Linked DNA regions of Homo sapiens: all the other regions are linked to region 4. Evidence: promoter capture Hi-C in 16 types of primary human blood cells and fetal thymus (Javierre and others, 2016). All regions are on one chromosome and are shown on one strand. Each heading gives the region's core, a stretch centred on a gene start or on the middle of the fragment in contact. The rest is flanking DNA. Distances are from core to core; before and after follow the strand shown.

Region 1 (4,146 bases), core at 846-3,345, 340 kb after region 4:
ATTCTGGTCCAGAGCATCTTCTAGCAGTTGGGAGCAGATGCCCTAAAAAGGGAAGAGAGGAAGGCCCATTGGGATCCCAGAGACTTGAGGGCTGACTGCACAGTGGTGTGCTGGGGCCTGGGAGGGTGGATGGGGTCACAGTTGCAGAAACTCTGTTAGATAGAGAACTAAGCTGATATTGGTTTGCTCATCAGCAAATATTATTGAGTGCTAATCTCCATGATGTTTCCTCCCATCAAAATTGCATGGGAGAACCTCAGGGCCCTTCTACTCCTTCTCCTTTCCCCTCATCTAAAATGCTTCCCCTCTGGCTACTGGATTCTCCTTAAGCCGCCTCATCCATCTGTCTTCCTTCATGCAGGAACACACCTCCCCCAGCCCTTATACTCTGGTGTGATTCTTTTGCTCCAAATGTTCCCTACTGGAGAAAGAGAACTGCTCAATGTATGTAACTTCAGCTTTCCCTGCTGTGCTCGGGCAGTTAGTTACTATAGGAGACAGAGGACAGTGAGACACTCACCTCTGAATCTAGTTCTGTATCTAGTAAGTGTCCTCATGCCATCCCTACCCCATCCTCCTTCTTAAGGGAGGAATGTGGATAAGGAATAAGTAAAAAGTTGAGAGGGGGCAGAGAGATTGCCTCCCAGAGTCATGGTGAGCTCCCTAGACTCCTCTGAGTGAGGGTCAGAGGCTGCTCTTCATGCAGGGAACAGGAGCCCCAAGAAGGAAAGGGAGCTGAGAGGACACCTGTCAGGGAAACAGGCTCAATTTTCTGAATATGAATGACAGGTACAGAGTACCTCTGTGTCTCCAGCTCCATTAAGGGTACAAATAGGAAGAAATTGCTCAGATAGCAACAGGTAAATTTTGACTTAACTGGAAGAATTCCCTGGGCATAAGGGGAGGGACAGAAAGAGGTGGAGAACTCATTGCCTTGATGAGAAGGAAAAGTCCCCCTTTAGTCACCTACTGAACAAAGCTTGAGTGGCCTGGAAGATAGTTCCAATGACTCTCAGAGCCCCTGTGGGGTTTCCAGCGGCCTCAAAGGAATCCCTTGATCATTTCCACAGACCCCAGTAAGAGCATTGCTGAATGTCTCCTCCTCGTGGACCTCACTATTTGCTGCTTATTCTAACTCTTCTTGTTGGGCCAGCTTCTGCAGGGGTGAGGGAGACCCTGAGACCTACTAGGTGGGAGGCCCAGATTGAAGATAATGGGCTGTGGCTGTGGCTGTGGTTGGCTGGGGAAGAGTTTCTGTGGATAATGCTCCAAGGTTGGCTCCACAGAAACTGGCACTTTTGGACCCCAGGGTGAGGAAAAGGATCTTGTAGGAAGAGATAAGTTGAGATGAAGAAGAAGACCAGGGTTGTTGCTCTGATTCTGATGTAAAATAACATGAGCTACCAGCTAGCAGTGTGATCTTGGGAAAGTTACCCCCCTCTTCTAGGCCTTGGCTTCCTCTTTAGTAAAATGTGGGTATTAAACGTGATGACCATAGAGGACTTCCCAGCATGAATACTCTGTGACACAGTCCAGTAGCAAGTTGAGAAGCCCAGACTTTAAGCAGATTTAAGCAGGCCTGGGTTCAACTTGCAGTGCACCCCTTACGAGCAGTCCTCCTGGGCAAGTTAGTTAACCCATGTAAGTCTAGTTTCCACCCGTTCATCTGAGGGCAATGCTATTGCCCCCCTAGGGAGGCTAGGATGAAGCACGGCATGGAGCGTCCAGCACAATGCCTGGCGCACCGTAAAGCCTGAGGTAGGAAGTTCATGGTACTGTGGGAACACAGGGGGATAGCAGCCCATGTTGTGGGTGGGGGCATCCAGAAAGGCTTTCCAGAGAAAGTGACATCTAAGCTGAAGCCTGAAGGAGGAGTAGAAATTAAGCAAAGTGGGAAAGGAAGAGTGTTCCATGGAAGAGACCCCATTATTTGCTAAGAAAAGCTTGGTCTGTTCAAGAACCGAGAGGTTTTGTGTGGCTGGGGACATGATGCATGCGTGAAGTGGGTGGGTACAGATAGAGAACACTGATGCTAGGGAGGTCAGCAGAGACCAGGTCATAAAGGACTCTGTTCCACCAGTAATTCTAGGGACTTCAGAGATAGGGTCCCTCCACTTCCTCTCCTCTTCTTCCTACTTTTCATTCATCCTTTCTCCCAAGACTAATTTCTCTTGTCCTTGGTCACACGAGCACAAGGAAGCATTGGGCTCCCCTAGGACGACCTGGCCAGTGCAGGAAGAAGCTTTAAGTTCAGAGTTGTCTGCCTCTGGACAAGTTTTGGCTTAGGCCTGAAGTTTTCTGCCTCTGTCCTTTCTCACCACTAGAGAGAGATGTGCCTTCCACAGAAGACCCTGGATTTTATCACTGAGGCACTCCTACTAAGCACTCCCACAGTGGGCCTCAGTTTCCCCATCTGCCCCTCTCATTGTAGAGAGTAGGGAGAGTGTTGACAGGGTGGGGCTGAGCACAGCCTGCAGAGAAGAGCTAGGGAAACTGACTCAGTGCCCCCAAGTGTCCAAACGTTGAAACTTCAATGGGAAGCTCAGAGGAAGGACTTCCGAAGGATGAAGTGGGTGGCACATGGAAAAGGGGGCCTGAAGGAGGAAAAGTGATGTAGAACATCAATCCTACAGGCTCTTTAAAGTCAAGAAATGCCAGGCACTGAGAAGGACACAAAGATGAACAAAATACAGATTAAGAAGCAGTCCAGAAAAGGTTCTCTGTTTGGGAAGATGGGGATGGTCCTTCCTGGAAGGCACAGAGCTGATGAAACAGCCTCTACAGGAGTTGGCCCTGGGGGTGCTCTCACAATGGGGAGTAGCTCTTCTGCCTCCCCTACCCGCCACTACCTCTTGGGCCCTCCACCCCCTAGGTCCAAGCCTCCCCTCATTTCCAGCCAACACCACTTCAAGTTCAAAGACAGGAAAGTGTACAGAGAAGGGCCCTTCAGCTGGGATCTGGTCAGCCTCCCCCGCCCTTCTCTCAGGTGGAGAACCCTGTCTTGGCCCTGGGACTCCAAGGAATAGGTCTCATCATACCCTCCCTAGTTTCTCAAACTCTTCTGGTAGATCAGGTGACAACTCATTAGCCTTCAGCCCAAGAACATTATCTCCAGGGCCCTGGCCATCCTAGGCCTTGAGAAGGCTGCCAGCTGCCTGATACTCCTGAGGCTGGGGGCAGACAAGAGGGCGAGAGGCTGAGGGATAGTAATTAAGGAACTTGGCTCTACTCAGCAGTCTTCAGCACACACTTGCCCACCTCTTGGCAGGCTGAGAGGGTTTTGGAGGAATTATAGAGAGGTGGGATAAAGAATAGTGGGTTGGAAGTCCCCTTCAATTCTGGGGCTAGAGTAAATCTTACCCCACAACTCACCTGGAGAAAGGAGATCGAAGGGATGGTGTAACTTGAGCATCATCAAGGCCACTGGGGTGTGGAGAGGCAACGTGAGGGAAAAGCCCACAGGATTTGGAGACATGGGGTCTGGCTTTGCCATTAAATAAACGTCAGCAAGTGACTTTATGTCTCTGAACCTTAGTTTCTCTGATTCAGTAATATTTTTCATTCATCTGCAAAGTAGGATAATAACATCTTTATTTGCATAAGGGCCTTACAGATTTCATATACTTTAAATCTTGTAATCCTGACCACATAGTGGAAGGTTTTATTGCCTCCTTAGATGAGGAAGCTGAGCTCTAGAGAGATTAAGAGATTGACTGAAGTTCCCCTAGCTAGTAAGTGACACAGACAGGATGGCAAATAGCGGGAAAGGAGAATACATAGGGACCTTTGTGACTCAGACATGCCAGGATAAGAAATAGGTTTCATTTGTTGGGCTAACTCCATTTGATTGAAAATGACTCTCTGTATCACCATATTGAGGATGATTCTGAGGCTCAGTCAGATAAAAAGCACTGTGATGAATTAGTGTTATCTGCTAAGGGGTGGTGGGGTGATGAGTGATGGCTCACATGCTGTATAGTTGACATTCCTAGCCCAGAATCACCCAGAGATTCTAATTCCTCCCTCTTTACTAACCAATTAGGTTAAATTTAAAGGTAACAGCTTACAAAGGTGACTAAAATACAGTCTGTGCCTTCAAAGAGCTCACAATCTCTAGAGGAGAACAAAGGATGATGTGGCAAATGT
Region 2 (4,134 bases), core at 1,278-3,777, 360 kb after region 4:
CTGTACGCTACGGAGACCCTGAAAAGCTCAAGTTGGAGGAGTCATTAAGGGAGCAAGCTGAGAAGGAGGGCAGTGCCCTTAGTGTGCGCATCAGCAATGTCTGATGACCTGTTCCCACTCCCCCATTCCTCTGGTCTCTTTTCCTCTCTTCCAATGCCCTGGTAAGGAATACTACCCGGGTTTACTGGAGATCCCCCGAAGCACCCATCCTCCACTCCCTCTTCTTTAACCCAGTGGCCTGTTGGTAGCTTAGGCCAACTGGAGTCCAGGTTCGCCTCCCACTGTCCCCTTTCCACTTCCCCAGCTTCTGCCCCAATACACATACCTCCCTTAAGCCAGGATGGGGGAAAGAGTGGGATTAGGCTGAAGTGGCTTAGAAGGCCTCAGCCATGCTTGGATACTCACATTAGGAGGACCATGTGGTTGGAAGGATAGACTGCCCCCTACCTCCCACCACCACCATGAAGTTTGGTGACTTGAGGCTGGAGCTCCCTCTGTTACCTTTCCATCTAGCAAGTTCCCAAAGGCAAGACTCTCTCTGATGGTCACTTTGTGGTCTGTGCTTTCAGAAATACAGGAATCTGATATCAACATATCCTAGGGTTTCTACCAATCTCTGTTGAAAGAAGCCAGGGTTTGCCACTGTGAAGCTTGATTTCTGCTGGTGACTTCTGACCATAAGCTAGAACCATGGTCGCCACTGTTTTCCCTCTGTAGTTTCTCAAGTGAACACTCTCAGGATACCCAGTTCCCTCATAGCCTCTGTTCTCAGAGAATTGGAGTTGGCCCAAGAAACATAAACATATAACCACCCATATCTATCCTGGATTCTGAACTCTTCAATTTGGAGTGACTAACACAAGTTGTTATCTAAACCTTTAAACCTATCTTCCAGGCAGCCCAGAGAAGATCTGTTTCCCTGTGTCCTGTGAATGGAAGGACCCAAGCCAATATGTTCCTTTGAAAAGAGTCCAGTACCCAGGCCCCATGGAAAGGTCTGAAAATAATATTCCAGATTACACTGTACCTGGCTTCTCTTCTTCCTTTCCTGCTCAGCCTAGATCCTTCTTCCTTAACCCCAACTCTTTGGGAGAAGGGAGGGAAAATGCAAGGGCCTTCCTCTCTTAACACGGATGCTCAAGTAAAACTAGATTCACAGGGCACAGATTCCCCAGAAAGTTAACACAATCCCACCATGAGGGATGGGTAAATTCTCAGATTTCCAAACTGCTGTACAGAGCCTCTGAGAATTGGTGATGCTTTGTTAAGGTTTGGGCAGGAGCAGAACTCTGTGGCTGGCAGCCACTATTCTCAGTTACACCTCCCAGTGCCCTTCTGAAAAGTGCCAGCTATTTCATTAGGCAATGCTGGAAGGAAATGAAATTATACCTTCTGATCAAATAACCATGGCTTCCCTCAGCCATTCCTGAGACTTGGTATAAAATGAAGAAATCAGTGTCATCTCTACTCTCCTCTGCCATGAGGCCATTTTCAGACAAGTTAAAAAGTAGACTTTAAGAGATCAAACTCAGCCTATTCCTTGTTCCCTGGTGGGGTCTGTGGTAAGGGTCAGGGAAGGGCATATAGGCACCAGAGCTTTATCCAAAGCCCCAAATCCCTAGAGTGCTTTCTGGTCTCACTTTGGTACCAAGGAAGCCTCACATAGTGGTACTGCATAGTCCCACTATAAGTCAAGTTGCAGTTTAAGGTGGTCTCAGCCAATTGTTACAAGCTACAGAATATATACATGCATCTATGTACAGAGCCTTGCAGAGAAACACAAAATTTTGAGGCTAGACCCATGATCACCACCAACTATAATTGCACAAGGTCTTGTTATATTGATCTCTCCTCGAACTCAACTAACTATATCTTGAAAACAAAGACCCTTCGGTGTCCATCTACAGTAAACCCCACCATTACCTTCTAGTTGGCATAAAAACAAGAACCACAAAAACTTGAAAAATCTGAAACAGAGAACAGAAGGCCAAGAGCCAGCTTCTGCGTTCTCAACTTTATTCAACATTAGACTTACCTTATTTCTTTCAGTGTGTAGGGACAAGATGTACTGCTGTGTGTGTGTGTGTGTGTGTGTGTGTGTGTGTGTGTGTGTGTGTGTGTGTCTATACCTTCCTATCCATTGCCAAGTTAACCTCCATCTGGTTTATTTGGCCATGCTATGCTTTCTTCCCATTCCCCTGCTGTCTATTCTAAGCCCCCAGACTCAAGCCTCTAGACTCTTGGATGAAACAGTGAGAAGAAAACATTTTCTGACTTACCCTTTTGGAATCTCCTCCATTATTACCCAGGCTTTGCTTTAAGTTGCACTTTAAATCACACTGTCCTATTAATGCGATCTGGCATCTTCTCCCACAAGCCCCCTACAGGGAACAACTACCCCCTACCTTAACTCTAAATGGTTCTTTAGACTATAGTCTGTCTCCTCTGACCTGAAATCCTCTTTTAGGCAATAGGCCGAGCTTTAGAAGCAGCCAGGTCTGGTGAGAAATGGGCCCCCATACCAACTGTGGACTTGGAATATCAGCAGAGTAGTAGGCACAGTTGTAAAAAGGGGAGATTTCGGTAGGCACAGGTGTAAAAAGGGGAGATTTCAGAAGACGGGCGAAACAACTGATGGGGGAAGATACCTGGGGTGAGAAGATGAGAAAGAAATGATGCTGAGGGACCTAGTGAAATCAATGAAACTCTTGAGTCTTGCTTAGGCTCGCAAACAAGAAGTGGGGAGGCTTGGGAAATTAGGATATGACATATATGAAAGGTTTATCTAAGAAGAAAGAAACAGAGATAATATATATATAGAAAGATGTATATAGATGTATATATGCCCAAATATATTGAATGTACAGAAAGGAAATATTCAGAGACTTTAGCATTGGGGGCAGATATCTTGGCCTGGTTATGGGGTAGGACACCCAGATTTTCAGACTTACAATCAGTGGTCCTGGTTTCAACATGGAAGTGAGATAGCTGATGAAGGATTTCAAGTCTGGAAATGGGAAAGGGAGGGGTAGAAGTTCCTTTTCAGAAATAAAGAGGCATTCATGAAGGCTTTTGTTGAATCCTATGCTACTGATAGGACCAGGAAGAGAGGAACTCGGAGGACAATAGGGAGGGGAAGTCTTGGAAAATCTACCACTTACACTGTGTGTCCCCATCCCCAGCAGCGTCCTGCCACTGTAGCGCCTTTTTAAAATAAATAAAATAAAATAAAGCACCATTTTGTTTCCCTTTCATGAAGTACACTGTATTTCCGTCTTCCACAGGGGTGGGAGCTGCTATTGCTCTAGCCCCTGAAATCAAACTCAGGAGCTGAACACTTTGGTGTATGGGAGGCACTAATGGGAAGCCTCAACCCTGGAATCCAAATGCCAGGACTAATAGCTGTTAGGCTGAAGATCTCCCAAGGTCAAGGCCCAGCCTTTTGTGTGGCTGCAAGCAGCCCAAAGAGAAAGCCATGGATTCCAGAAGAGTTCCAATCCTGGCATTTGGGCATGGAGGGTGATGCTTTGGTTTTGATGCTTCTGAATGAAAATGAGGAGTGGGGTTACCAGCTGCTCTAGGGGATGGTGAAGTTCCATGAGAGGCTTCCGAAATCTCTGCAATGTGCTTCACCCCATTATTCCCCCAACCCCTGTCAGCCTAATAAAATCATCCAGTAGTTTCCCTATAAGGTCTGAGCAGAGAAAGAAAGCCAGTTATACTATTGCTACAAGTCCAGGACACTGTGCCCTCTCCATGGCTGCTGCCCTGGTCCTTTATTCTTGCTAGCTAACCTAGTTCACTTGTACAGTAACACACTACCTTTGCTGGAAAGTTAGCATGGGTCTCCAGGCTCAGTAATGGCCAACTCTACTGATGCAGAAGTATTTAGGGATGTTTTTTCCATTCATTGCACTAAAGACTAAACCAGGTCAAATTTATCTAGGAAAAAAAAGGTGTGTAAGATTTGTTTTGTTTTTGTCTGTTAAAAATAAGCTACTAAATAAAATGGATGACTCTTTGGTTGTCACTCTAGCTTCTTTTAAAAAGCTAAACCAAGACTGTCAAGGTCTGAACTCATAGACCTACCTACCCATGAGTGTGGAGGGTTGAATTCGGCTGTGCTGGAAGAAC
Region 3 (3,986 bases), core at 55-2,554, 320 kb after region 4:
GAGGCAATTTCAGCCAGCCCCTTGCCTCAGGCTGGGTTCCTGAGGCTGAGGAGCTTGCTGCCTTTCTGGCTACTTTCAGCAGAGCAGGAGGATCAGAAGCCTTCACACAGAGTTCTATCTTGCTTTATAGGACTGGGTAGAGATAGGCTAAGATTTAAAAGTTATATGACGGTTAGAGGTGGTACAGGATTAGCCCTTACTTTACAGGTAGGAATAGGTCCCAAGAACATAGTCAGGACTAAGACTCAGGCCACCCGACTCGAGATTCCTCGTGTTTCTTTATTCCCAGTTGCCTCCCTCCTATCACAGTGCATTGGATGTTAATGGAATTTCTATCAATTGGACCCAACTGGAAAGGTACTAGAAGTCCCTAGTTAGAGAAATTTGTTTTTTTCTTTTTTCCTTTTTTTTTATTCCTTTTTGAGACAGAGTTCCGCTCTGTTGCCCAGGCTGGAGTGCAGTGGCGCGATCTCCGCTCACTGCAACCCCCACCGCCCGGATTCAAGTGATTCTCTTGCCTCGCCCTCCTGAGTAGCTGAGATTACAGGCACACACCACTATGCCTGGCTAATTTTTTTTTTTTTTTTGTATTTTCAGTAGAGATGGGGTTTCACCATGTTGGCCAGGCTGGTCTTGAACTCCTGACCTTAGGTGATCCACCCACCTTGGCTTCCCAAAGTGCTGGGATTACAGGCATGAGCCACCGTGCCTGGCCATGTTTTTCTTTTTTAAAGGAAAGAATTCTTTAGTAGGTAACTAACTATTCCCTAAATTATGTCTTATAAATGTGGGTTTGTGTATATTGCATTTATTTAAAGGGGGTGATCTACTTACATAATGATTCGTTAGTGACTAGGGGAATGTAGCTCAGTCCTTCTCTTGGATTTCTCCTCTGCGGCCTGAGTCATTCAGCTATGAGATGCTCCACTACTAATGGAATTTGTTCAGCACTGTGGGATGTGAGCACCAAAACGCCACTTGGAATCCTGAATCCTGTGGTGAGCCATGCCAGTGTCTCTGTTCTTTCTAGCCACTTCCCCTGACTTGTTAAATACTAACTATTCTGAGTCTCTATCATGCCTCCCAACCCAAAGCTTTCCTGATTCCCTCTGTCCACATCTGCTTTGCCCAGCGCAAGCCCCTCAGACTGCTGCCCACTTGTGGATTCTTTCTAAAACAGGTGACACACCCCAACTCTCCTCCTCCTCTGCTCTGAGGTAGCCTCTGCCCCATTATAAATGAAGTAAAAGTAGAGATGAGGCCAAAGCTGGAAGCAGTGAGTCTGAAAGGAGAAATGGAGGAGAATAAGGAAGACGCAAGTTGGGAAACTGAAAGAAGAGAGAGGGGTCCTCAAAAAGAGAAGTTTCCTCTGTCATGTTTCATGGTGGACATTGGATGTTGTAATTCTGGGGAATTTTTCATACCAACATGTACTCAGGGGTCATAGCCTCTGGTTGGCAAGATTGTGTTTAAAACGTGCAAATTCCCTCTGGCATTATTCTGAGACAAGCTTTGGGGTCAAATATATGTGGATTCAAATCTCAAAACACTTTCCAGCTATGTTACCATAGGCAAACCACTTAACTCCTCAGAACTTCAGTTTCCCCATCTTCTGATCTATCTGATGTAGTAAACACTCACAAATATTAGTGTCCTATGCCCCTTATTACTGATTCCCTACTGGGCTCCTAGAGACTGTCCTAGGACTTCTCTTTTGCAAACAAATTTAAAAATGAAAACCTGACATTTGATATGTACAAAAGAATATAGATGGTGGACATATGTCTATATGTTATAAAGCATAATTTAAGAACAAAAACTCAATTTAAATCACTCTTTTAAATTCAGAACATTACAGTGCTGTTGAAGCTACCTGTGTACTTTTCCACAAGCTCCCACCCCTGCTGTTCAAGGACTTATAAAGTCTTTCTAACTGCCCAGTCCCACCCGACTCTATCCTCACTCTGATTGTTAGTAGAGGACACTTCTGTAGATCACTTGTAGTTTTTTAGTCTGATTGACCAGAAGTAACATAGAATTAAGGAAGTCATGAGCACTTCCAGCCTCAGAGAGAAAGATGCCGAGTTCAGTCTGAGGGCCTGTCACGTTTTTTATCTTCTTTTTTTTTTTTCTAGGTCTTCTGTGGTGAAGACCTCCTTCACTGTGACCTGTAAGCACGAGGCAACTGTTTGGGGTTTTAAAACAAGGGCACAGGGACCGACATGATGAAAACAGGTTGCCTCTTCCTTTGAGACTGGAGAGAAAGGTGAAGGATGGGTCAGGTCCTGATCTTTCTGATTCTGATAGTGGTCATAGGAATGAAAAAGCACATTGCAAACAGATGAAAGAAAGGGAGACTTGACAGCATTTGTTGGCTTATTTGACATGTCCAGGAATGGGCCCAAGGCAACGGTGAAGAGTAAAGGTCACTTGTAGTTTTTTATTCTAATTGACCAGGAGTAACACAGAACTAAGGAAGTCACGAGCACTTCCACCTTTGGGGAGGAAGGTACTGAGTTCAGTTTGGGGCCTGTCAAGTCAAGATGGAAATCCCCTGCAAGCAACTAGAAATATGGAGCTCCAAAAAGAGTGTAGGATTGAAGATAGAGATTTGGGCATCACTCAGGGACAATCGTTGGAGCTATGTAAATGACAAAGGCTCAAGGGGCAAGACACAGAAAGAGAACATAAGGCTGAACCTTGAGTGTTAAAAGAAGTAGCTGTAGCTTTGGGTGTATAGGGGCAGTGGAAGAAGATAAGGCTGGAATGGCACCAGGTCCAGGTTATAATAGGCCTTCTCTTCCAGGGAAAGGAACTCGGACTTTACTTATAGATAGTTGGCAGTTACTGAAGGTTTTAAAACTTGGAAGTGGTACGGTCAGATGTGTGTTTCAGAGAGATGTACTTTACTGGTGCTTAATTACTTTCAAATAAAGAAATTCATAATCCAAAGAATTATTAGAGTGGAGGAAGACTGGAGGCAGGGAGAGTAGTTAGAAGGCTGCTGCAGTAGCCCTGGTGTATTAGGCCATTCTTGCATTGCTATAATGAAATACCTGAGATAGGCCATGGTGGCTCAAGCCTGTAATCCAGCATTTTGGGAGGCTGAGGTGGGAGGACTGCTTGAGCTCACAAGTTCAAGACCATCCTGATCTACATAGCGATTCTTCGTCTCTACTGAAAGTTAAAAAAAAAAAAAAATAGCTGGGTGTAATGGTGAACACCTGTAGTTCCAGCTACGTTTGAGGTTGAGGCAGGAAGACTACTTCAGCACAGGAGTTCAGGGTTGCAGTGAGCTGTGATCACACCACTGCACTCCAGCCTAGGGGACAGAGTGAAACCCTGTCTCAAAAAAAAAAAAAAGATTAAAAATTAAAAAAAAAAAAACCCAGAGAGTGGGTAATTTATAAAGAAAAAAGGTTTAATTGGCACACAGTTCTGCAGGATTTACAGGAAGCATGGTGCTGACATCTGCTCAGCTTCTCAGGAGACCTCAGGAAGCTTTTACTTGTGGTGGAAGGCAAAGCAGGAGCAGGCACATCACATGGCAAAAGCAGGAGCAAGAGAGAGTTGATGATGGGGGATGTTGCCATATACTTTTAAACACCCAGATCTCACGAGAACTCACTATCATGAAGATAGCACCAAGCCGCTGAGGGACCTGCCCCCATGATCAAAACACCTCCCACCAGGCCCATGTCCAGCATTGGCATTAAAATCCAGCATGAAATTTGAGCAGGATCAAAGATCCAAACTATTATTACCTGGTGAGAGGTAATGGTGTCCTAGACTACAGCAATGATAGTGGAATAGAGAGGAAGGGGACAATATTGAGGCTATTTAGAATACAGATGCATTGATTCAATAAGGGAGATGAGGTGAGGAAGATTGAAGAATCTAGGATGGCTGCCATGTTTCTGGTTGGGTGATGATAGTGTATCTACCATGGTAGAGAATAAATGGAGAGGAGCACTCTTGTGAGCAAG
Region 4 (3,788 bases), core at 300-2,799:
AAGACAACTCATTCCCTCCCACCCATAGGTCTCAGATACTTAAGGTACTACCCCTAAACCCAGGCGAGGCCATCCACGAAGTCTCAAAATCCTGCAGACAGCCTTCTTTTCGGGATTTTTGCCAGGAAAATCTGCCTGCAGAGTCTAGAGGTACCCCCGACACACACTCAGAAACATACATACCAGCTAAGGCAGGCACACACATTGATACCCATCAACACAGGTTACACACAAGAGAACACAGATTCACACCCCTTCCCAGTACACAGGTGCACACACACCTATCCACATACACTCCATTCTGCTCTTACACACCCACCTTCCTCAGTACCTACACACCTCTTTCCCGTGAACCCCTCTCCCAGTACACACACATAGACATACACGCCCTCCCCTAAGTATACATATAAACACATATCCAAACACACAGCAGATGCATGGTCAGCCGCTCCCTGGGTGCACACACACTCAAGCACAGAAAAACACCTACACATCCAAACCAGGGGCCCACCTGCAGGAACATGCAGCACGTCAAGGCGTGCACACACACCAAAACAAAGAATCATGCACACGGATCCTCCACCAACCCTTCAAAACTCACTAACGCAGAGCCCACAGTCCCCCAGATGGGTAAATATGAGTGGGGAGAGGGATGCCAGCGCCTGTCCCCTCGGCCCCTATACACAGTCTACCGCCTCCAGCCCCATCCTCGGTCTGTACATACACCCTATCTACTCTGCCCAACCCGCCCCCCTGACTCCACTCTACACCCTTAACGCATACCTGCCTCCGTCCCTCCCCACGCTCCTGAGGGGTGTATGCACCCCAAAACACCCTTGGCTTCCAATACCTCCAGACTCCGATCCTTCCACGCCTCTCCCCCCACCTCCAACACAAGCTCCCCGTCTCCGGCTTCAACCGGCTCCCCTGGGATCATTAAGGCCCCCGCCCGGGCCCAGGAAAGTCCCCGGCTCTCCAGGCCTGGGCTCCGCCCCCTCCCCACGAGCCCCTTCCCCTCCCCAAAGTTGGGGGGGGTACTCCGCTGTGCAGTGGGGAAGCGGACCGGAAGGGGGTTGCCCGGAGTCCAGCCCCCCTTCCCCCATAAGCCACCCCGCTCGCTCTGGGGTCGGGCACCCCCTGGCCCCTTGCATGATTTTCCTCCTTTTCCATTTCTTTTTTTCTCTCTCTTTCTTTCTTCTTTTTTTTTCAAACTTTGCCCGCGCCCCCGCGGCCCGGCACTCACCCGCCGCTGCGAACTGCCGGGTGGGCTCCGCGGGCGCCCCGCTCGGCCCGTCGCCTTTGTATCCGCAGCGCTCCGGGTCGCTCCGAACTCGGCGCTCCTGGACAGGCAGCGCGCGCGATGGGGGATGTTGAGGGGGGGGTTCTTGAGTCTGGTCACCCCCTGCTCCGTCCCAGACCGCTGCCTCTTCCCCCTCAAGGCCCCGGGGGCTGGGGGCCAGGGGGGAATAGGGGGCGCTCAGGCTCCCATGGCGGGACCAAGGATCAAGGAATCAAGGATCAGGAATCAGATCGGGAGCCGGCGGCGCAGGGGGGAGGGGGCGGAGGGGGAGGGGATGAGGGTGGGGGGTGCAGGGGGCGGGGGAGCGCGAGCTCCCGGGTGCCGCCTCCCGGCTGTTCCCACAGCCGCCGCCCCTCCTACCGCCGCGTCCATTGTCTGCGGCCCCGCTCTTCCCGGAGTCGCCGCTCCCCCAGCCCTGCGCCTTCAGATGCCCAGCGGCCCTCCCCGATCCTGGGAATCCGCGGTGGGGCTGACACTCGGGTCCCGAACGGTGGGCAGGGGAATGCCTCGATTCTTGGACTTGGCCCAGCCCGCAGTCCCTCCTGGGGCTGTCTTCCTGGACCCCTCCTGTCGGAGAAGGAGCCCCCAGATCCCTGGGGCTGGCCATATTCTCTTTAGGGCCACGGACCCGACTACACAAAATCCAATGGAATCTGGGACGTGGGAAGATTGATTTTTTTTTTCCCCCTAGGGGTCCGAGAAGGGAGGGTCATCCCTGATTTTAATTAGTGGCGAGAGGCGCACGCCTCTTCCCATGCATACGGGGATTTCCCTGACACCATCACCACCATATCCCCTCCTTCCAAAAATAATTTAATTACTTGGAGTTCTAGCTGCGAGCAGCGACCGCCCCAGTCAGTCTGGGACGCTCCCTCATTAACACATTTTTCCTCCCCTCTGGTTTGAGTGTTGGGATTAATTACAAAGGGAACCCTGCCTTAGGGAAGAAGGGGAGGAGGAAAAGACGCGGGCGCCTGGGAGTTTGAATGGCAGAGGAGAGGGGGCCTTCTCCCAGGAAACCTCCAAGAGGAAAAATGCCTTGGCCAGTTGGGTCCCCAACCCCAAGCAGGCAGATTGTCCATCCCAGGAGTTTCAGATACTTTAGAGTTGAAGGTGCCACACAGGGATTGTAGGATCTCACAAAATATCCTACACGTTTGGGGCATTTGTGCCTCCCAGTATGCCAAGAAACCAGTTAGGGTTCTTTTACATGTGACCCTACAAGAGTGAACCCACACCGTAAAAGCCTGGGCTGTGGGAAGTCCATGTTCCCCTTGGAGTAAGTGAAAGCAGTATTCAATTATCATTAATGTTATTGCCGTGCAACCCGCCACTTAGAGTAGTATCATTTCAAAAGCATCTTCACATACTTCTCCCTAAGCAGGCCAAGGCCTTTTCAATATCTCAGCCTCCTTCAGTTTCCAATCCTGGCACCTGCTTGAACAACCCTGTGATTAAGGAATCCCAGAGAAAGAGACTCCCAGCCTCTGTTCCTCACTTGTTTGGGAATTTTTGCTCCTCCCTGATGAAAACTATTTCCTGAGACCTAATCTCACCCCTTTTGATGGTTCATTCTAACCTGTCCAAAGATGAGGACAGAACCAACTATGCTGCATTGTTCAAAGATGCAGAACAGTAAAACACACTTCCTTTCTCCTTTGCCCAAACTCTGTCTTTCCTCATCCCCTCCTCCAGTAGTATGGGTAAGCAGGTGACTCAGCATCAAGACTACATGAAATATGCAGAATCATCATTTCAGGTACCCAAGTCCCTGCATGCGTCCAGGCACTCATTCACCTTGTGCCTATCATGTGCAGGCACTGGGCCGCACTGGGGCTCCTGGCAGTGACCACGACCAGGTGTATGAGGGAGTGGCAGGAGAGCTGGGGAAGGGTTAAGGGAAGTAGGGAGGACATGGGTGTCCCCAGCCCTGCCCCAAAGCACACCCCAGTGCTAGGCAGCTAGTGTGTAATTTGACACAGAGTCGGGGCTGCCGTGGCACTGTCTTGACTCTCAGGCAGATTTAGTGTGAATTATCTTCACATGCTGCTAGCCTGTTTCACAGACCCCAAAATGGCCCAAAGAACTGGAAAAAGGGCTTCTGATGCCAGAATTACAGATAATTCCATAGTCTGGCCCCACTGAAAGCTTGAAACCTAAGTCAGGATGTTAACAGACAAGGCTTCCCAATTAACAGGTATCAGGCATCAGGCTAGAATAAGCTTAGTCCCTCCTTTCTCTGACGGTGAGGTTGGGGGCTTTCAATTACATCTCTGCAATGAAAACACTGGATTACAGAGTCCAACAAAAAATTTTATTGGTGTGGTCTGTCCCATTCAGCAATTCTCTGTATTACCTTCTACCTTCACCTCAGGATAGAATCCCATCTGGATTTCACACGTCCCCAAGTCACTGAGTAAGCAAACAGAGACCCAGCTAGAAGGCCCATGTGCCCTATGGTCTAAGGGACCTAGCTTAATTCTTTAGA
Region 5 (4,041 bases), core at 292-2,791, 300 kb after region 4:
CACTGTGCCACGCTTGAGGAATACCATGTCAAGGAAGGTCTGGTCTGGCCTGTGCCACTTACCCTCTCTGGGCCTCAGTTTCCTCTTCTGTAAAGGGGGGTGAGTGAGTGGGAGGGAAGGGGGATGAGAGGGGAGAGGGAGGATGTTGGAGGGTAGAGGGTGGTAAATGGGCTCTGGGGTCACCTCCCACTGACAGCCACTCTGACAGCCTTGGCTTTGCAAACCTGGCCATCTCTTCTCCCCATTCTGGTCTCATCCTTCCTGCCCCTGCCCACTTCCCATCTTTACAGTTCAGGAAGAGACAGAGCACCTGGGAAGGGTGCCTCCTCCATTCTCCCACCTCCAGGGCAAGCCCCACTCTTCCTAGAACAGAGCAATGTTCATCTCTTCCCACTGTCACTGAACATAGAGACTCCTTCACCTAAATGCCAGGTCTAAACTAAGCCTCTTAGGAAGCAGTTCAAATAATAATTCAAAACCTAAAACAAAATAATCCTTATCTCCCATTTTGTGTTAGTTTCCTGTGCCAAACACTTTATGTACATTACCTATCATCACAATAACCCTTTGGGTGATGTGATCAACCTCAATTCAATTTGCAGAGGAGAAAACTGAAGTTGAAGGAGGTTAAACAACTGGGCTAGGATCACCCAACCCAGAAATGACGTCACATGGACGGCCCCCTCTCCTAATCCATTTTTCTTTTGGTTTTGCCCTCTGAGGGGGTGAAAAACAGGTCTCCAGTGACCTTCTGGATCCTGGAAGCGCCCTTCAGCTCAAACCCTTCGCATTCAGGAACTCCTGGCTTCCGCCAACCCCTACTTCAGCAGGGTTTGCAGCGAGGACTATGGCTCAGAGCAAATAACTGAATTCTAAATGCGTGGTCACAGTCACCTCGCCAATCCCAGGGACCCTGCACCCAACTCTCCAGGAAAGGCTGGCAGGTGCGGGGTGGAATGCGCTCTGTGCGAGGGTGGGTGGGAATTTCGATGCGCAGAGGTGCAGTTAGCTCACTCCTGCGGGGGCCTCGGGCGGAGCCAGGGCCAGGGGCGGGGCGAGGCCGGGGTCCAGGGCGGAGCCAGGATTGGAGGCTGACGTTAGCCCTGCGGGGACGGGGAAGGGGTGCGGCTTGGGACTGGGGCGGGGCCGGGGCCCGGGGAGGAGCCAGGATTGGAGTCCGACTGTAGTCCTGGTGGGGCGGGGCGGGGGAGGGGCCGGAACTGGGGCTGGGCCGAGGCCCGGGGCGGATCCAGGGCTGGAGTCTTGGCGGGGCGGGGCGGGGAGGGGCGGGGCCGGGGCGGGGCTGGGACTCGATGCGACTCAAAGGTGAGTTTCGAGGGGCGGGGCGGGGCCGGGGCCAGGTGCGGAGCAAAGGCCGGAGTCTGGCGGGGGTGGGGCAGGCAGGGCCAAGGCTGGGTCCGGGGCGGGGCGGGCCTAGACGGGGCGGTGGAAGGGGCGGTGCCGGGGCGGGCCGGGGCGAGAATGGTTTCAGAACTGCCGAGGGCTGGAGGGAAAGCAGCGGGAGGGGCGGAGGGAGGGGATTCGGCAGCTCCAGTTCAGCTCGCTCGGCGCACCCACGCCTCGCTGCCCCGCTTCCTGCCCTCAACCTGGGCATGCGCCCCCCACCCTTCCGGCCCCCCAGAACCCGCGCCATCCCCCGGAGCCTCCCCAGAGCTGGCCGCGCAGGATGGGCGCCCTCAGGCCCACGCTGCTGCCGCCTTCGCTGCCGCTGCTGCTGCTGCTAATGCTAGGTAAGCCAGGCCCCCGTTCCGGTTCCCGGCCCTGCCGGGCAGGTGCCTGCCATCCAGCACCCCCCTAGCATTTCGGGGCTCCTCACATCCTCCTCCGTCAGGGGTACCTCCAGCCTCCCCGGGGTCGGCGTCCAGCTGCGCTTTGTGGCTGTCCGCCGAGCCAGTCTTGGGAAGAGTGCAGGCTCCCCAGCTCTAAGCCAGGGACTGGGGCGTAGAGAGGACCCACTAAGGTGCTGCCCCAGGCACTGCTCGGCCTCCCGGGGCAGGCCACACATCTCAGCTAGCATACCCACGTACTGGGGTCGCTGCACCAAATGCTGCGACTCCTTTCTGCCCCACACTCAGCTCCAGGCCTGGCCTTGGGTGCCCGCCCTACGAGGGCAGTGCCTGCCCAGCTTCATAATTGCCCCAGAGTTGGCTGGAGGCCCAGAGGCCAGTTCTGCCCACGATCTTTGAAGTAAGTCTCTCCCAGTTGCGCTCCACGCACTTCATCAACTGGGGGCAGTTCCCTCTCTCACCCCCATCTCCACCCTGGGTTGGGTCCCTCTTTGCCCTTCTTCCTGTCTCCCAAATGGCACTTGGCTCTGCAGCCACCCATCAGTTTTCACACCGCTTAGTTCCAGCTTCCTTGCCTCAGGAGAAACCAGGTTCCATGGAGACTGATCCTGGGATCTCCAAGCACCTTGTGCCTGCTGTGGTGGGTGTTCATGGTGGGGTGTTCTGGGCCAATCTTGCATGGATGCATGGGGATAATGACAGTGGAATTGTTTTTGGCCTGAACTGGAGGGCTCCCTGTAGGAGGTGGTCTGGGGAAGAGTATGGCATGGAGACAGTGAAACTGCCAGTACAGATGTTGATGAGGCTGAAGCCCTTGAAATGAGAGTGAAGCGTGGGGGTGGGGATGGTGACTTCAGAGCTGCTGTCGTCAAGGCAGAGGCTGAAGGTAGCCCCAGCTGCCTGTTTCTAGACCAGAGCTCCACAGTGGCACCAAGCAAAGCCTTCCCCTGCTGCAGGTCCCTGGGCCCTGCAGGGTTAGGATGAGTCCTCTCCCTGGTCCCTGGGCAGGTGGCAGGAGGATGTACAGAGAGGAAGGCGCTGTGGGGCCTGGGTTGCCTAGCACTTGGTGTGTTTTCCCCAGTGGGCAGCATGGAGCAGGGAGGAGCCCAGGGAGGTGGGGAAGTGCTGGCCTGTGTTTGAAAAAGGAGCACGCAGAGGTCTGAGCACCCACTGCCTGTGGGCACTTACATTCATTTCACAAATGAGGAAAATGAAGTAACTTGCCCCAGAGAGCACATTTAGTGAGTGTTGGGGCTAGGATTTGAACACAGATCTGATTCCAAAGCAGGCCTCTTTGCTGTCCCTTTCCTTGCTGCGACTGATACAGAGGAGGGGAGAGAGAGCTGTGTGGCAACTGATTTCCTAAGGCTGTGGAGGTGACTTTCCCATGGGCATCTCCAAGCATCAGCAGTTGTGGAGCCAGGAAAATGGGAGGGGGCCTTCTGAGCAGTCTGCCCTGAGGCAGTCAGGGAAGGTGTCAGCTTGGCTGTCTCCACCGTCACTCTGATTATGAAACTTGCCTGGCCTGGGGCAGGGCTCTCCTGAGTCACATACGCACTCACACATGGTCAGAGCTGGAGCTCTTAGTTCTCCTCCAGTGTGGAAACTGAGGCCTAGGACAGAAAGAGACTGGATCCCAGGCCACACAGCTGGGCATGGGGATGGTGCTGGAATCCCACTTCCTGACTGGCAGCTGTGCCCTTAACAACAGACCATGAGTTCTCCCTGTGACCCAGCCAGAGGATGAAGGAAGGGGCTAGGAGCCCAGAAGCAGGGGTGGGGAAGTTCAGAGGAGCCGTTCTAGAGAAGCTGGAGGGTAGAGTTTGACCACAGACTCCTGGGCATTTTCCTCTAGCTCCTGCAGAAAGTCCATGGTATCCCCCTGGGAGGCCTAAAAGTGACACTCTGGTTGGTGAGGTCAGTCCCTTCAGGCCTGGCCTTGGAGTTTCCCCATCTTCCTCTCTGGTTTTGCCCCTCTGGAGGAGTGTGTGGAAGCCATCTAGGGACAGCATGATCTTGGCTAACATATTATACTTTTCCTGCCTTACCTTTCTCATCTGTAAAATTGGGAGAGGTGGGGAGGGGTGGCCTAGCCCTCTTTACATTGAGGTTCTGTGATCTTATCTAGTGGGAGCTATGGAAGGAAAGAAGGGAGGAGCTAAGCCCTCTAAGTCTGCCAGGAGTATCTGCTGGGGTAGGGTTGGGCATAGGGGTGGAGTAGGGTGAAGAAGAG
Region 6 (3,666 bases), core at 374-2,873, 280 kb after region 4:
TAAGATGGAGCAGGGTAGGGGGCTACCTCCCCTCCTTCTCTCTTCACTTGGATGGGGGAAATGGAGGGCTTATCTGATCCTTTAACCCCTGCCTCTTCTCAGAGGTCCTGCATCTCAGCTAGGGATGCCCTTTCCATGGGGAGCCAGAGATGTCAAGATGCAGCTGAAGGTCCCAAGACAGTATATCTTCCTGCAGCTATGACCTCTTCCTCCGTGAAGCCCATACCTCACAGCTCCTAAGGGCAGGCTCACAGACTCTCAAGCACCCCCACACAGTGACATTTATGCTTGTGCAGGCTTGAAGGCTTGTACATTTACAAATTTGCCTGCTGAGACACAAACACAGGTACTCATCCATGAGTAACTGCAGGACTCCCCGCCTATGGAGAACACGTGGTCAAGGACACACACTCACACACACACAGACACAGACACACAGATACATGCATGCACTCCAATTCTATTTATGGCTCCAACCCTAGCTCAGGAACCCTGGTGTCCAGGCTCAGGATTTCCCAGCTGCTCAACTAGGTGCAATAACATGTCCTTGCCTGACTCCTCCTGGGCCCAGAAACACCCACGGCTCCCCCTAGGCACAGTCTTCCTCATACCCTCCTGTTCCGCAGCATGCCCTTTCCCTCTGTGTCCTCTTTTGCCAGTATTCCACAAAAGGAAAGCAGCCAGGCACAGCATGTAAAAGGATTGGGCCACTCTTCTCCATATGGGAATTTCATTTCCAAGAATTCAAAGCCCTCTCCCTGCCCGCCCCATTGTTGTTAATCTTCCTCTTGGTGTAGCCATTGCTGCAGAATGCCATGGACGGGTGGACTGGGGGGGGGGTCACCTGTCACCAGCCTCTGGGAAAGTCCTCAAAGCCCATGGCTTGGAACCCACGGACAATGCTGCTCGGGACATCCGGAGGGGTGCTGGGGTGGGGGCTGGGTCATCATTCTTCCTCCCCACACCCCGCCCAGCTGTCCTTGGCACTCAGGGCCCCTGGAGCTGGTGTCCGGAACTACTTGGTGACTCTGGGAGCCGGATGCTCTACTGCCCCTCTCTAACCTCAAAATGGACCCCCAGCCTCTCAGGCTAGGACTCCCAGAGGAATGGATATTTTCAGGAGGTGGCAAAGACAGGAGGACTCACAGTGCCAAACATCCTTTCAGCTGGGAGGCCGGGAGATGCAGTGAGAGGAGGGACTGCTGCAGGGAAGGACTAGAGATGTGGGAGTGGGGTGGAGGGAGAGATGGAGGGGGCATGTGTGGTGGGCTGTGGGTCTAACTGTGGGCAGGGGGCTGGGGCGTGCAGAGGAGAGGAGAGCACTAGGGTATGTGACCGCCGTGGGATCTGTACACACATTGGTAGTTTGGAGACTGTTAGTTTCAAGTTCCAAGTATCCCACTCAGCTCCTCTCTCCCGCTCCTTCCACATCCCATTCCCACTTCATCCTTCCTCAGCAGCCTCCCTCACCCTCTAGACTGCGACCCCTGCTCTTTAGGGATACTCACCCCACGGCCCATCTTGGGGCAGAGTGGCTGAGGGACCTTAGCGGGAGAGGTCACCAGGAGGATCCCAAGCCCACACCAGCCCGTCTGGGACAGTCGGAGACCCTGGCAGACAGAGAAAGCCAAAGCAACAGGGTAGCTTTAAATAGGTCCTTCTCCCCCTCTCCCCCGCCTTCCCCTCCTCCGAAAGAAACGTTTGTTGAAACAGGATCCCTGAGGACTCCTCCCCTCCCGCCCCTTTAGCCACTGGCCCTAGACAGCCCGTTTGTCCCACGGCATGCCCCCCCTTGGCTCCTCTCAACCCCCTCTGGCCTGTGGCACTCACAACTGAGAGAGGCTGCAAGGGAAGGGGGCCTGGGTCCCAGGTTGGGGGGATATGCCCCCTTGGATCTGGCTGAAGGGGAGCAGTTGACTCAGAATCCCAGGATGACAGAGACCATGTGGCCTAACTCTTCTTTTCCAAGTGGGTAAACTGAGGCTCAGAGAGATTAAACAATTTGAATTGATAAGACAGAGCCAGAACTCAGGTCTCCCGAGTCTACATCCAATCTCCCAGAGAAAGAAAGAAACATAGACCACTCTGTTCCTTCTATTATAGAGGTTGCAGGGACACTGAAGCCCAGAAATAGAATTTGAACCGAAGGCTGACCTCTGCACTTGAGGCACCTGGAAGGGGGGCCCAGGAGGAGTCAAAGGTGGCTCGGGAGGCAGCGGGAAGTTTGGAGATGGAGGCAAGAGGGTGTCCCCAAACCCTGCCAGATGTAACCTCTCCAAAGTTTTGAAGGAGAATCAAGACTCTGGTAGGGAGGGGCAGGCCAGGGCTAGAGGGGAACGGGTGGGACTCCTAGCAGGCACCTGATGACATCTCTGGGTTTTGTTTACCCCTCGTTTACCGTTTCATTGCTGTTGAAGAGCTCTAGACTGAATCTATGCCTGAGTAGAGTAGTGATAGGGAGAAGTCAAAAGAGAGGAAAATACAGAACCTCTAAGATGTGTGTGAAGGTCAATATCATAGCAAATATCAGACATGTGAACGGGAAAGGAGAGCGACTGTTTCCTTCTTCCAGTGGGGAAGGGGAAGCAAAGCTGCAGCATGCAGGACTGAGGCTGGAGAACAGGCCTCTCTGCAGTGAAGTGGGGGAGATTGGAAATGTCTGAGGAGTGAGGATGCCCATCAGAGTCAGGAGCAATCCCAGAAATGCCTAAGGCTTTGCCTGGGGCTGGAAAGGGTATCTTTAACCTTATACCAGCTAGAAACTGGGGACAACGAGATGACCCAGGACAGGACCAGCTGGTCTAGGGGTGTTGTTGCTGCTCATTTGATGAGTAATCCAAAGGATGAGGGGCACAGAGAGGAAGGGGAACCCAGAAGGGGCAGAGAGAAAAGAAAAAATTCTGCTCCCGCCTTCTACTGGGAACAGTCAGAGGACAGGATTCCCCTGGAGTACCCCTGTTTCTCTGGGCACAGAGATGGAGTGAGGGGAAGCCAGCGGAGTGGGGCAGGTCTAAGTGTCCTGAGTGCAAAGAAAGCAGAGAGGAAGGGAGGGAGGGAAGGGGGGCTTTGGCCAGAGGCCTAAGGTGCCTGCTGGCTGGGCTGGGTCCATCTCTGGCCCCAGAGGGAACTCCCTGCAGAGGGATTATCAGCCTCTCCTCTAGCAAATCCACTCTCAGGGCACAAGGCTAACATCTGAATTCCCTAAATAACTGGCCCCCTCCGGGCCTGCAGTTGAGATTTTCCATTACAGGGACCTGGTAGGTCACATCTCACTTCCACGCTCCTTCCCTCTCTGGGTTACAGTCAGAAAGGGTGGGTAGGATGGGGCCAACAGGGCCTTCTCATGGCCCCCCTCTCCGAGCTCAGATTTGGTCTTGGGAGAGAATGGGCAGAGGGAGGAAACAATGAAGGGAACAGATACCAGTTCAGCCCCTGTGTGTTAAGGAGAGAGTGAGAGGGGAGTAGCGGGAAAGCCTGTGGTTAGACACCAGGAGAGACTGTCTAAAGCAAAGTCACTCCAGAGTGGCCCCGAGGCAGCTAGGGAGATCAACATTGGGGCAGGCTTGCCTGGGGGCTGTGGGAACAACATGATAAATTGGGGTTTAGGAAGCGCCTGTTCCGTAGGTTCCTGGGTTGGAATTCCTGGGTAATCTTCTGCCCAGCCCT
Region 7 (3,838 bases), core at 536-3,035, 470 kb before region 4:
ATGGCCGGGGAGGCCTCACAATCATGGTGGGAGGTGAAAGGTACTTCTTACATGGTGGCAGCAAGAGAAAATGAGGAAGGAGCAAAGTGGAAACCCTGATAAACCTGTCAGATCTCGTGAGTCTTATTCACTATCACGAGACTAGCACAGGAAAGACCCTCCCCTATGATTCAGTTACCTCCCCCTGGGTCCCTCCCACAGCACGTGGGAATTCTGGGAGATACAATTCAAGTTGAGATTTTGGTGGGGACACAGCCAAACCATATCATAAGTTTATCTGATTACACCACTAAACTTTGATCACATTCATTTCTTTCTAGGTGTCAACGTAGCACAGAAAAATTAAAAGAGAACATTGGCTTGCACAAATGACTTTATCATTATAACCCCAATTTTGATTTTCTGTATTTGTAATTCACAAACTAGATAAAATTCACAAACTAGATGGTAGGGCACTTAGAAGTCATTATGTTTTTTTTTTTTTAATTGCAAAACACTTGGTCTACTAATATGTCAAACATAAAAATCTCAGAATATAATTTCATACTAAATCAGATTCTGATTTATACAATGTAATAAAAGATACAAATGTATAAGACAAATTTATATTTAATTATCTTTAAATAGGAGGCTAAATAGGAGGCTATTCTATGGTGCATTTCCCTTGCAATTTGGGAAAACTTTTTTGTACCTTTTTCACGTAGAAACATTTTGTTCCAACACAGGGAAGCAGAGATTGATTCCATTTCCCACACCACATTGCTAGTGTCAGAGAGATAGCCTGCGGTTCTCTGCATCGTCAGAGCTGTTTCTCACACTGAATCTGGGAATGGCAAATTTCTTGTTATGTTGAATTCTGAGATGAGTTAAGACATGGATTGCACTCTTTAGCCTTTGCTCCTGTGGATGTGGGTTCTCTGCGTTATCTGATGTCCCATAAATTGTTTTGAGAGGCTCTGTCTTCCATCTTCTTTATGAGACTGTTGCATCTCTTACCTTTAACCTGAACCTGAAAGTTATCACAGCCAATAAATAAACAATAACTGGCTACTTCTCTTCCAACAAGTGAAAGCCCACAGAAGATAAATGTACATAGAAGGGAAAGCGATTTTCTAGCCCTTCTGAGAAAAAGAGACAGAAAAAGAGATTGTGCTTATTAAAAGTGTCGTTATGGTTTCATTCAAACAGGAACACAGACAATATTCAGATGGTTAGAAATAAAGGCAATGAGTTCTCATTTAGTGTCTGGTGTTACAGAAGTTATTTATTGAATTCTTGCAAGATTGGTTGACTATACCTATAAGATCAGTTGGGCTCTTTGTGAATGGTTCATCTTTGACAACTTTAACAACTTCTTTCCAGTGGTGCAGTAAAGGATTAACCTTGTTCAAAGAGAGGCCCAACCTTTGCCCTTGGCTCCTGGGAGGTAATCTCTAAGCTTTGAAATGTCCTGCTTGATAAGAGTATCTTCATTACTGGGGACCTTGTTAGCATTGTCAATGCTTATAATGTGATTTATGGTGGGAGCTCTGACCACATAGCATCAACTCAATTTCTGGAGGGGCCAGAGACTATGGTCAGCCACATGGGTGGTCAGCCATGTCTATGTGAGCAAGTCCCAATAAAAATTCTGGACACCAAGACTTGGAAGAGCTTCCCTGCTTAACAATATTCTCTGTGTGTATTGTCACACATAGTTTCTGGGAGAAGTAGGCCCTGTCTGCACAGCTCCACTGGGAGAGGAGAACTGGAAGTGCTGTGACTGACTCCTTTGTTTGGGACTCTCCTGGACCTTGCCTTAGGTACCTCTTCCCTTGGCTCATTTTCATCTGTATTTTTTGCTTTAATAAACTCTAATATTACAGAAGTTATTTGTTGAATTCTTGCAAGATTGGTTGACTATACCTATAAGATCAGTTGGGTTCTTTGTGAAGGCTTGAGTAAAACATTTGTAAAACAGCTTTCAGTGAGTTTTGTGAGTCATTCTAGTTAATTATCAAACCTGAAGATGGTCTTGGGGACCTCAAACTTGCAATTTGTCTCAGAAATGGGTGGTCCTGGGGACTCATGAAATTTGTAGTTGGCATCAGAAGTGGGATTTACTGGAATGACCTTGACTCACCGAAGCTTGATGAAAGCATGGTTTGGGCAGGGGTTTATGAACCTTTGATTCCCAGATGGCCGCTAACCTTTAAATGCCCCTGTCTGAGTCCCCTGTCCCAGACTTATAAAGATCTCGTGAATATGTATGGGAAATGTAGCTAAGGGAGTCTCTGGTTTATATTGATTTTGTAGGTCTTGGGTCCTCGTGCTAAAGTGGCTGAGTTGCACAGAAGGACTCTCTGCACAAAAATTAGGAAGGGCAAGATAAAAACTCCACGAGGGCAGGGTCCATGGTGACTCAGCTAACCAGTCTATCTCAGGGGAAATAGAAATGTCTTCCTTAGAGAATTCATTCATTCCTTCAGCACTTGACAATCTACGAATCAACTCTGAAGAACCAGGCGCTGGGTGAGGCTTGGAAACACTAAGCTAAGGAGAGCATAGACTTTGTGTTGAAGAGCTCAGGGCTGGGGAGGTCAGTGTGTAGAACAAATGGCAGGTTGTTTTTTTTTTTTATTATTGTTGTTTGTTTGTTTGTTTTTGCTCTTGTTGCCCAAGCTGGAATGCAATGGCGTGATTTCGGCTCACTGCAACCTCCTTTTCCTGGGTTCAAATGATTCTCCTGCCTCAGCCTCCTAAGTAGCTGGGATTACAGGCATGCAACACCACACCTGGCTTATTTTTTGCATTTTTAGTAAAAACGGGGTTTCACCATGTTAGCCAGGTTGGTCTCAAACTCCTAACCTCAGGTAATCCACCCACCTAGGCCTCCCAAAGTGCTGGGATTACAGGTGTGAGTCACTGCGCCCAGCACCTTTTTTTTTTTTTTTTTTTTTGTGACAGAGTCTTGCTCTGTCTCCCAGGCTGGAGTGCAGAGGCACAATCTCAGCTCACTGCAACCTCTGCCTCCCAGGTTCAAAGGAGTCTCCTGCCTCAGCCTCCCGAGTAGCTGGGATTACAGGCACACACCACCACACCCGGCTAATTTTTGTATTTTTAGTAGAGATGAGGTTTCACCGTGTTGGCCAGGCTGATATCGAACCCCTGACCTCAAGTGATCCACCTGCCTTGGCCTCCCAAAGTGCTGGGATTATAGGCATGAGCCACTGCGATCAGCCTACAAATAGCAGATATTGTGTGATAGAGTTTGTCAGGGACCACAAGACAGACACACACTCAGTGGTACAGCTGCTCCGAGTTCTGTTTCCAGGGGATGATAGGTCATCCACATGCCTGGTGGGAAGGATGGAGCTGGTGTTGGGGTCAGGATTGGAGAGGCTGATTCCTAATTCACATTCATTAGTGGGTTCCAACAGCTGGATCTTGTTTTCCACCTGTCGTGTGAGGAAGTTTACCCTTCTTTGTTATATCATGTCTTGTGCACCACTTCTCAAGGTTAAGGACATGGCCAGATCAACTCTGAAGAAATTCCCCAGGGTTGAGGGCTGCCCCTTGGGAGCAGACAAAGGAGAGAAGAGATGATAACCATTAGACCCGCTGGAAAAAGCTATTCAGAGCTTAAAAAAATGAAAACAAAACCACAAAAACCTCATCTATGTCCAGTGTTTTTTGTGTGCATATTCTGGAGTATCATTTTTAATTTGATCCTGAAAACTGCCTTGTGAAGGTGGGGAGGATGTATTGTTGACCCTACAGGCTCAGACAGCAACAAGGCCAGAATCACATAGGTTGTAAGTTGCTGAATGGGAGCTGCAAGTCCAAGTCTTTGACTCTA

The links. Contacts are between HindIII fragments. The CHiCAGO score rates a contact against its expected background, and 5 or more counts as called.
Region 1: a fragment that was not itself captured here is called in contact with the fragment with the promoter of VANGL2 in region 4 in 2 of 17 cell types (M2 macrophages and M0 macrophages); the score reaches 5.4 in M2 macrophages.
Region 2: a contact is called between a fragment that was not itself captured here and the fragment with the promoter of VANGL2 in region 4, in 2 of 17 cell types (M0 macrophages and M1 macrophages). The highest score is 5.8, in M0 macrophages.
Region 3: a contact is called between a fragment that was not itself captured here and the fragment with the promoter of VANGL2 in region 4, in 1 of 17 cell types (M0 macrophages). The highest score is 5.1, in M0 macrophages.
Region 5: the fragment with the promoter of IGSF8 here is called in contact with the fragment with the promoter of VANGL2 in region 4 in 6 of 17 cell types (M0 macrophages, M2 macrophages, M1 macrophages and 3 more); the score reaches 10.6 in M0 macrophages.
Region 6: the fragment with the promoter of ATP1A2 here is called in contact with the fragment with the promoter of VANGL2 in region 4 in 1 of 17 cell types (M2 macrophages); the score reaches 5.2 in M2 macrophages.
Region 7: a fragment that was not itself captured here is called in contact with the fragment with the promoter of VANGL2 in region 4 in 1 of 17 cell types (activated CD4 T cells); the score reaches 6.1 in activated CD4 T cells.

Annotation. Positions count from the first base shown.
Region 1 is chr1:160,056,625-160,060,770 of GRCh38, reverse strand. All of the region lies in intron 1 of KCNJ10 (potassium inwardly rectifying channel subfamily J member 10), which reads left to right. Among named protein-coding and RNA genes, the nearest start is that of KCNJ10, 11 kb to the left of the region's middle. The HindIII fragment of the contact is 299 bases long and covers 1,946-2,244 here.
Region 2 is chr1:160,037,363-160,041,496 of GRCh38, reverse strand. KCNJ10 (potassium inwardly rectifying channel subfamily J member 10) reads left to right here. Exons shown (of 2, transcript NM_002241.5): 2 at 1-4,030. The coding sequence ends at 104. Among named protein-coding and RNA genes, the nearest start is that of PIGM, 7.4 kb to the right of the region's middle. The HindIII fragment of the contact is 3,750 bases long and covers 653-4,134 here.
Region 3 is chr1:160,073,432-160,077,417 of GRCh38, reverse strand. No RefSeq gene overlaps it. Among named protein-coding and RNA genes, the nearest start is that of KCNJ10, 5.3 kb to the right of the region's middle. The HindIII fragment of the contact is 416 bases long and covers 1,097-1,512 here.
Region 4 is chr1:160,398,325-160,402,112 of GRCh38, reverse strand. It overlaps VANGL2 (VANGL planar cell polarity protein 2), which reads right to left and starts at 1,549. Exons shown (of 8, transcript NM_020335.3): 1 at 1,244-1,549. The region is part of intron 3 of LOC105371466 (a long non-coding RNA gene); the gene reads left to right. The HindIII fragment of the contact is 3,661 bases long and covers 1-3,450 here.
Region 5 is chr1:160,096,119-160,100,159 of GRCh38, reverse strand. IGSF8 (immunoglobulin superfamily member 8) reads left to right here and starts at 1,541. Exons shown (of 7, transcript NM_052868.6): 1 at 1,541-1,751. The coding sequence starts at 1,688. RefSeq lists a silencer at 957-1,786 and enhancers at 2,353-2,879, 2,880-3,408, 3,409-3,935. The HindIII fragment of the contact is 5,064 bases long and covers 1-4,041 here.
Region 6 is chr1:160,113,716-160,117,381 of GRCh38, reverse strand. ATP1A2 (ATPase Na+/K+ transporting subunit alpha 2) reads right to left here and starts at 1,623. Exons shown (of 23, transcript NM_000702.4): 1 at 1,509-1,623. The coding sequence starts at 1,520. RefSeq lists enhancers at 1,349-2,132, 2,885-3,503. The HindIII fragment of the contact is 17,914 bases long and covers 1-3,666 here.
Region 7 is chr1:160,864,082-160,867,919 of GRCh38, reverse strand. No RefSeq gene overlaps it. Among named protein-coding and RNA genes, the nearest start is that of CD244, 3.1 kb to the right of the region's middle. The HindIII fragment of the contact is 689 bases long and covers 1,441-2,129 here.